Linked DNA regions of Homo sapiens: all the other regions are linked to region 1. Evidence: promoter capture Hi-C in human tissues and cell types (Jung and others, 2019). All regions are on one chromosome and are shown on one strand. The core of a region is centred on a gene start or on the middle of the fragment in contact, and the rest is flanking DNA. Distances in the headings are between cores, read along the strand shown. Region 1 holds the start of RAP1GAP (RAP1 GTPase activating protein). Region 2 has its middle 11 kb from the start of ALPL. Region 3 overlaps HSPG2 (heparan sulfate proteoglycan 2).

Evidence for each region. Contacts are between HindIII fragments. The study calls those that stand out against the background at their distance.
Region 2: a contact is called between a fragment that was not itself captured here and the fragment with the promoter of RAP1GAP in region 1, in 1 of the 25 tissues and cell types used here (IMR-90 fibroblasts).
Region 3: a contact is called between a fragment that was not itself captured here and the fragment with the promoter of RAP1GAP in region 1, in 3 of the 25 tissues and cell types used here (H1 embryonic stem cells, mesenchymal stem cells and mesendoderm cells).

Annotation. Positions count from the first base shown.
Region 1 is chr1:21,667,778-21,670,900 of GRCh38, forward strand. RAP1GAP (RAP1 GTPase activating protein) reads right to left here and starts at 1,580. Exons shown (of 25, transcript NM_002885.4): 1 at 1,477-1,580. RefSeq lists a silencer at 1,502-1,651 and an enhancer at 2,300-3,123. The HindIII fragment of the contact is 12,626 bases long and covers 1-3,123 here.
Region 2 is chr1:21,496,531-21,499,450 of GRCh38, forward strand. No RefSeq gene overlaps it. Among named protein-coding and RNA genes, the nearest start is that of ALPL, 11 kb to the right of the region's middle. The HindIII fragment of the contact is 4,936 bases long and covers 1-2,920 here.
Region 3 is chr1:21,851,662-21,854,488 of GRCh38, forward strand. It overlaps HSPG2 (heparan sulfate proteoglycan 2), which reads right to left. Exons shown (of 97, transcript NM_005529.7): 50 at 2,532-2,682; 51 at 1,258-1,409; 52 at 1,039-1,171; 53 at 427-572; 54 at 130-265; 55 at 1-36. Among named protein-coding and RNA genes, the nearest start is that of LDLRAD2, 41 kb to the left of the region's middle. RefSeq lists an enhancer at 255-1,454. The HindIII fragment of the contact is 5,961 bases long and covers 1-2,827 here.

The sequences.
Region 1 (3,123 bases), core at 330-2,829:
TCCTCACCTGTGCAATGGAGGCTTCAGCGCCTGCCCTGAAATATTGCTGTGAAGGGGGAAATTGCTCGTGCCACCTGAGGATTAATCATTACCCTGGAACCCTTCCCAAGGCCATCAAGGAACACGCACCCCTTACCAGACCTTCCAGCTGCTGGGGGCTCTCAGAGTGAGGCTGAGGTCATGGAGAAGGGAATGGGGGGCCCCCATGGCCAGCTGGACCTGATCACTGCCTCCCCACTCAGCCACAGCCCTCAGGGCCCTGTGCCAGTCCAGAAGCCCATTCAGGGACACCTTTGGCCAATGTTCTGTTTCATCTGCGAGGCAACCTTCCCCAGTGCCCCAACCATAGCGTTTTCCCCCAAACACCCTCAGGAAGGAGGGACCACTACCTGTGCAGGGGGGGCCAGGAGCCTCCTGAGAGCCTCATATGGGGAGGAAGTGGTACCATCTCACCCCCATTGCCTTTCTCTCCTACTTCCACCTGGCCAGCTTCCCTCAGTGCCCCTCCTGCCTCAGTGCCCCTTCCCTCAGTGTCCTTCCTGCCTGCCGCCCCAGGGGCCTGACCTCTGACTTGGCAGGGAGGGGAATGGAGCCCGGGGACAGAGGCCAATGAGCCCTGAGAACAGTGGATGTTCTTCCTGACCCCACCACCGGGCCTGTGCTATGACCCCAACAAGGACTCCGAGGGCATGCACAGGCTGGGGTCTGTTATGGTAGGGAGGGGGCCGCTCACCTCCGGAGACTGTGTGTGTGTGCAGGTGTGCGTACACAAGGTTTCTTCCCCAAGCCCAGGCGCCCCGCAGCTGGCACCAAACCCTGCAGGGCACGGAAACCGCCCCGTGAATTCCCACCGAGTCCTCAGATCCTGCCGAGCCAGGGGAGGCGACGAGGGGGCGCCCAACTTCGTGACGCGTGTGCCCCGCTCTGCCGCGGGGGTCAGGGACAGGGGAATGCGTCCTGTCTCTGGGGATGCAAGGACATCACCGCCCTCCCCGCTCAGGGTCCTTGATCTGAGGCCCCCACTTCCCTCCTCTGAGGACAGGAGCGCCACCCTCTGGGGGGCGCTAGGGCTTGGGCCCCTCCCCAGGGATGGAGGAAACGCGCCCACTTCCCACAGTCCCTCCTCTAAACCCCAGGCGCCCCCACCTCGAGGTGGGCGGAAAACTGGACTCCCCACCCACCCAGGGGGGTGGGACCAAAGCCCCCTGGCCGCGGCCTGGACCAAGTCCAACAGGCTGGGGGTTCAGCCGGCTCAGTCCAGGCCTCCCCCCACTTCTCCAGCTGCTGTCAAGACCGGGCTGCGCGAGCCCAGCTGCGCCCACCCCTCGCCCCTGGAGACCCGGGTCCCCCACGCGTTCGCCCCCACCCTCCGTCCCCGCCCGCCCGCGCGGGGTCTTCGCTGCGAGCCGACGGGAGTCTGGACACCTCTGTCCCCTTCCCCTTTCCAGGGCCGCAGCCCTGGCGGGGCGCACTCACCCAAGGGCCTGGGCCGGGGGCGTCCTGGGCTCGGCACTCTGGTGCCCGCGGCCGCCGCTGCAGCTCTGCTCAGATGCGGCCGGCGCTCGCCGCCGCCGCAGTTCGGGGAGGGGGACGTCACATGACCGCGGAGCGCTCCTTCCCCGGCGCCGCTCCCCACTCACTGCGGAGCCCAAGCCGCGGGCGCGGGAGCGGCGGGGAGGCCCCCGCCCTGCCGCCCCGCCCCGCCGCAGGTCCTGGAGGAGGGTTCTCGGTGCCCCCATTTTACAGGTGGGGAAACTGAGGACCAGAGAGGGGCAGGGACTGGCTCAAGGTTACACAGCTAGACAGTGGCAGAACCTGGGCGACAGCCCAGCTGTCCAGGCAACAGCTCATGCTCCAAGGGGACTGGGACAACTTCTGGATCAAGTGGAGACGTCGGGATAGGTGGGGCCCACGGCCCCCATGGGCTCCGCTTGTCTGCAGGCGCGGGAGGAAGGCGCACAGGCTTCGCTGGGCGAGAAAGCTGCTGTGCCCTGGCTGACGCCCTCCTCACCCGGGCGCTCGGCGCGCTTCCTGGCAGAGGCCACGCGGTTGACCCTCGCCAGCCCATTCGCGGCTCTTGGACTTTGTCTCTGGACTGGGCAGCTCGCCCCCGCCCCAGCCTAACCCGGGCCCAGGGCGGGTGTGGGGAGGGGAGCCACAGGCTACGGAGAAGTGGAAGGGAGGCACCCGGAAGAGAGTGGGATCAGAACAAGAGTGAAAACCCAGGCAGGGAGGGGGCGGCAGAGATCACCTCGGCCTGACTTCCAAGGCCCAGGGAGAGTTAGAGACTTGCCCAAGGTCCACAGCAAGTGAGCGGCCTGCCCACTCGAGTCCCTTCTTTGATGGTCAACAGAGCCTGAGGCTCCTGTGCCCCACTCCCCACCAAGGGGGAGCCCTCACCCACACCTCTTTCTGTTCTCCACTGAGCTCCCTCCCCGGGGAACAGCCCACATGAAGCAAAGAAACACGCAGTGGGTCGGCAAGGCCAGAACTGGGGACAACGGGTGAGGGGTATGGTTGGTGGCTCCAAGGTCATGAACTCGTCACAGAACACTCGTGTTCCAGGGGGATCTCTGAAATCTCTGGATCTCACCCCAATGTTCTAAGAACTGGGAAAACAGGCTGCAAAAGGTACAAAGACAGACCTCTTTCTCAACCATTTCGAATTGGTGGGTCAAGCCGACAGGGCCCTCCAAGGTCAACAAGTCCAATAGGCCCACTTGACAGATAATATTTAGGGAGGGGAAAGTCCAAGACATGTACTCAATATATTTCTTGAGCATCTACTGTGTGCTTAAAACCACAACTGTTACTTCCAGCTCCCACTATTTTCCCGGCCACATGGGCTGCATTTCACAAAAGGAAAGATCCGAGGTCTTCAGCAACTCTTACATCAGCCTCTGGAGGATCTGAGACATGCAAGCCTCCGGGTTTTCAGTCCCATAGGGGCTGGGGACCAGAGCCATGTTTTCCGGTCAAGACTCTAATCCCCGTGGAGAAAAGGTGAATAAGGGGGAATAGCAGGAAATGCCCCACCCTCTTCCCACGCATCCACCCACCTGTGAAAGGGCAGAGGGGAAGGTAGATCAGGCACTTGTTCTTTTCAGTCCTCCCTCCAGCAAG
Region 2 (2,920 bases), core at 334-2,833, 170 kb before region 1:
AAGAGACAGAGTCTCGCTCTGTCACCCAAGTTGGAGTGCAGTGGTGTGATCATAGCTCACTGTAGCCTCAAACTCCTGGGCTCTAGAGATCCTTCTGCCTCAGCCTCCCAAGTAGCTGAGACTACAGGAGCTGACAACTACATCTGAATTCATCTTCTTCTTCTTATAAAGACATCAGTTCCACTTGTATGATAACTCATTAATCCATAAATGGATTAATCTGTTCACGAGAGCAGAGCGAGCCCCTTATGAGCACTTCTTAAAGGCACCACCCCTCAATACTGCCACATGCAGGATTGTCAACCTTAATCTTGGAGGGGACATTCAAACCGGAGCAGCGTGTGTCCTCTTAGTTGTAGAACCAAGGAGCAAAAGTAGTTTGTGGCAGAGGGAAGTAGGATAACTGAATTTCATCATCTGGGGGCGGGGGATTGGGGGTGTCTCATCCCATTCACAGGCCAGTCCCCTCTTCTTTGGGAGCTGCCATGTTGGCACTGCATGATCCCGCCCCTATCCATGGTTGATTGGACCAGGAGTGGACCAAGCTGGGCCAATCCAATGTCTTTGGGAGCTGCCATGTTGGCATCGCATGATTCAGCCCCCATCTGTGGTTGATTGGACCAGGAGAGGACCCAGCTGGGCCAATCCAATTGTCTCTCCTGGGCACTGGGATTGCAATGCACTTGCTTGGGGAGCCCTGGGGAGGCAAGGTCCTGCTGCAACAACAAGGAGGAGGAGAAAATGGGTCTACAAGCACAGACGAACAAAGCAGGCACAGAGAGAAGAAACTCAGAGATAGGAAATGGGTTGGACTGGTAACTGATCAAATCTCTGCTTCCAGTCTCTTCTGGAGTATTGGCTGCCTTCCTGCCCTTGGCTGTCATGGACGAACCCCCCTTTTAATAAACTATTCTCTTTGGTTATGCCAGTGGAGAGGTTTTCCATTACCTGCAACTAAATTTTTCATTAATATAGATATCCAATAAAATAATGCTCATAAGAGCAGGTATATCTCTTCCAAGGGACTTACAGGTATTATTTTACATAAACTTCCCAACAACCCTCTGTGGAAGTTGTTAACATTCCCATTTCACAGATGAAGAACTGAGGCACGGAGAGCCTCACTTGCTCAAGGTCAAGCAGCTACTGGAGCCAGATTTGAGCCCAGGTAGTCTGACTTCAGAGCCTGGGCCACAGTCCATCACTATAGACCTTTTCATTTGCAACTGCTAGGAGATGAGGGCTCAGGCCTTCGGAGCCCACCCCATCACGCGCTCACTCTAGCCCTGCAAGCACACAGAAAACTGGAGGAGTTGAAATCTGAGGAGGGATGTTTGCCCTCTGTCCCCCGCTGCCCTAACCACTCCCGCCCCCTGGAGGTATGTGAAGAGTCCAGAATCCCTGGGATTCCTGACACTGCACTTTGAGGTGATAAACATTAAACCCACTAGTCTTCCTTACTCTGAGTGCCCAGAAACACCTGGGACCACGTAGAAGGAGGCTGTCAAGGAGACTGGACTGTCCTGGAGGTGTGCCACACAGTCACTCTCACCTTCCAGAAGGGCTTGTGGGCATGCCCTCTCTCTCCCCTGACAGAGACTGTGAGGCCCCGTGGTTAGGGGGCCTAGGCTGGGAGCCACATGCTGGGTGCCTGATCTTGGTTTAGCCTCCAAGCCTCCGTTTTCATTCTCTGTTGAATGGGGATCATAATAACCCCTACCCAGAGGAGTAAATGAGATAATGCATCCAAAGGGCTTAAAAACTTGGACAGGATTAGGAAAATGTTGGCGTATGATGGGAGAAAAGCAGGGACTCTCAATATGTATCATCCTACGCGCCTATCCTTTTAAAGTTTTTTTAAAAATTAGATTTGGAAAGATAAAAACCAAGGTGTTAAATGGGATATCTCTGTGTGATAAGATTACCAGGCATTTTAGTTTACTTGACTTTTTGCATTTACACTTCCTAGCATGAACCTAGATGATTTATATATTTTAAAACATATTGGACTTTACACATATACAATATTTTTATTATTATTTACTTCAAGTGCTTGCCTAAATCCTAAAGCTATTGTGTGTGGGACACTTGTGAGTTGCCTCTCCAGCACCCACTCCCCTCTTCTCTTTTCAGGGCAGATTGGGTGGGTTGAACTCCACTCCATCTCCAAGGGTGGGCCTGGATTGGCTTAAATCAATCACTGTTGTGACAGGCTTAGGGAGCTCATCGTGGAGGCTGGGTCCAGGAGATGCAATTCCAAGACTTGTGTTTGTTTGGGGAAATAGATTTTCTTTCTTTCTTTTCTTTCTTTTTTTCTTCTTCTTTTTTTTTTTTAATATATTAACAGTGACTTCCATATATCACCTGGGAACCTCTGCTTGGGTGAGAATGGGCCCAAGAGGGAGGAAGAGGAGCTGAGAATGGAAAGACAGAAAAGCAAGGTCCTGATTATATCACTGAACCACTGGGAAGACGCTCTGGATGTAGACTTTTTTTTTTTTTTTTTTTTTTGAGACAGGATCTCACTCTGTCATCCAGGCTGGAATGCAGTGGTGTGATCACTACCCGCTGCAGCCTCGACACCCCCATACCCCCTCCACCACCAGCTCAAGCCATCCTCCCACCTCAGCCTCCAAAGTAGCTGGGACTACAGGTACGTGCCATAATGCTCAACTACTTTTTGTGGGGTTTTGTTATTGTTGTTGTAGTGTTTGTTTTTTTGTAGAGATGGGATTTTGCCACATTGCCCAGGCTGGTCTCCAAGTCCTGGGCTCAAGCCATCCTCCTGCCTTGGCCTCCCAAAGTGCTAGGATTACAGGCATGAGCCATCGTGCCCTGCCTCTGGTTATAGACTTTTCATTTTAGTGAGCCCATACATTCCATTATTTTCAAAACCAGTTTGAGAAGTTGTATTTTCTGT
Region 3 (2,827 bases), core at 235-2,734, 180 kb after region 1:
AGGGCTCGATGCGGATGGGCTGGGTGCTGCCGGCAGCTGAGGGATAAGATGGTCACCGGTCACTCCTGTTCTCTGAAGCCACTCCAGCCTGTTCTCTGCATCCCAGCCCAGCCTGGTGGCCCCACTCACGGTAGGCTAAGTTGGCCCCCTGGGTCCCAGTTACTGTGACCGTGATGGAGGCCTCCATGCCGTTGCTGGCCCGGCAGACGTACTGTCCCGCATCGGCAGGTGAGGCCTGGAAGATGTACAGGCGGGAGCCACGAACCTGGGCAGCCGTGGGCAGAGGTGTGAGGGGGGCTTCCCGGAGGCCAGCAAATGCCCCACCGCTGTCCCCCCGATCTAGGAAGTGCCAGCCCCTCAGCCTAGGGGCCAGGATCCTGCAACCCACTGTCCATGGCCCCGTCCCACATTCTTGGTGCCCTGTACCTGGTGCCGGGCAGGGAGGCTGCCCCCACGCTTGTACCATGTGACCTGGGCGTGGGCCTGCCCTGCCACCACGCAGCTCAGATCCAGGGTCTGGCCCTCGGCCACTGTGGAGGATGAAGACTCGATCCTGACAGGTGGGATGGGTCCTGCAGCAGTGGGGATGGGAGTGAGAGTTGTAGATGCTCCTGAGATGAGAGGGCAGGGGTTGCCCACCCTGCAGCTAGCTCAGCCCAGGGTTTCAAGGCCAGATCCAGCTTTTCAGGCATCTGGGGGCCTGGACTTGATGCCCTCAGCTCAGCAACCCTGATGGGAGGACCAGGGCATGGGCCACGCCTTGCAGAGGGGAGTGAGGAAGTGAGAGAGATGAGGGCAGAGATGAGTTGGAGAGAGGAAGAGGAGGTGGGAGGGGACGCCTGAGGAGTCATGTGGCCAAAGCAAAGTGTGACGGGAAGGCGGTGGTTACTCTGACAGGTGGAGTCGGCCTGGGCAGGGCCCTGCAGCCAGCTCCGGTGTGGGCCTTCTGCCCTGTCAGCAAGAGGGGTCCCTTGGATCTCACCACCCCGGAGGCCTCTCTGCCTCCTCCAGCTTTCCATGTCACTGGGAGTCACTCACCAGGGATGACAGAGGCTTCGATGGTGACCAGGACTGAGGCCTCTAGGGGGCCGGAGGTGCCCACCACATGGCACACATACTCGCCTGAGTCGGCCGGGGTCACCTGGTGCAGCCGCAGCAGCGAGCCGTGGGTCTGTGTGCAAATGGGGTGGGTTGGGAGGGGGCTGGAACAGTCCCATCCAGCCCCTCCAGCAAGGTGGTCCCGGGGGGCTGCCATACCTGGTGCCGGGCAGGGAGGCTGCCCCCACGCTTGTGCCACGTGACCTGGGCGTGGGCCTGCCCGGGCACCACGCAGTTCAGATCCAGGGTCTGCCCTTCCGCCACGTGTGAGGAGGAGGGCTCGATGCGGATGGGCCGGGTGCTGCCGGGCACTGGACACAGAGCGGCTGCTCAGAGGCCTGAACTCTTGGGCTGTAACCTGTAGCCCTGGGGCAGAAGGCTCTGGGCTGTGACCAGGCCCTAGTGGGGACGGCCGACAGGTGGCCTTTCTGGGACTAGGGCCACACCCTTCTGCCTCCACATGGCCAGCCGAATATGGCTTCTTCCCTCCCCAGCCTCTAACCACAAGCTGGAGGCCCATTGACCCACCCATGACTTCTTGATGATGAGCTCCTCTGGCCCATAGGGAACCAGCAAGCTTTACTACCCAGGCTGCGCCCAAGGATGCGGATGACAGTGAGACACCTCCCTTCTACAGGACGTCTTCCGTGTGCTCACAAGTACTTTCCATAGACACTGTCTCATTTAAACCACACCATGACTGGCCAGGCGCGGTGGCTCATGCCTATAATCCCAGCACTTTGGGAGGCTGAGACGGTCGGATCACGAGGTCAGGAGATCGAGACCATCCTGGCTAACACGGTGAAACCCCGTCTCTACTAAAAAAAATACAAAAAATTAGCCGGCCTGGTGGCGGGTGTGCCTGTAGTCCTAGCTACTCAGAAGGCTGAGGCAGGAGAATGGTGTGAACCCGGAAGGCGGAGCTTGCAGTGAGCCGAGATCACGCGCCACTGCACTCCAGCCTGGGTGACAGAGCGAGACTCTCTCTCAAAAAAATAAAATAAAATAAAATAAAATAAAATAAAATAAAATAAAATAATAAAAAAACCACACCATGACCAAGCAGGTGGGCAGTACTGCTCCATTTCATAGATGAATCTGAGGCCCCAAAAGTTAAAAGCTAGTTCAAGGTTGCTAAGGGGCAGATCTGGGATTTGAACCAGGTCAGCCGACTCCCAGCTTAGTATTCAACCTGGACATTCTGCTGCTTCCTGACAAATTCTGAAACAGTCACTCATAGGGAGCCCAGGTAAGCTGGACCAGCCTTAACCTCCCTCCCGTCCACTCAACCTCCTTCTCTCTCTGAGCAGGCGCTGAAGGGTCAAAGCCTGCCTGGAATGCCCCCCTGTCCTGGTCCCACTGAAGAAGCCACAGGCATCTTCCTTGGGAGCTCCTAGGGCTCAGCCCCGGCCCAGCCACACCTGGCTCCTCACCTGGGGTGTAGCTGGGGCCAGAATGGGTGCCGTGGAGCACAGACACAGTAATGGAGGCCTCCTTGGGGCCCGATCCATTCTCCACACGGCACACATATTCTCCAGAATCAGCTGGTGAGACCTGGGGGAGCCGCAGACGGGAGCCGTGCACCTGGGCCAGGAGGAGCCAGAGGTACGTGAGGACAGGGACGGGGGCTATTGTCACCACTCCCTCAGCCTCAGTGATTCATTCAAACTCTCACTGGCTCTGCTCCGAGCCATCCCATGCTAGAAACTGGGAGGGAGGGAGATGAGGC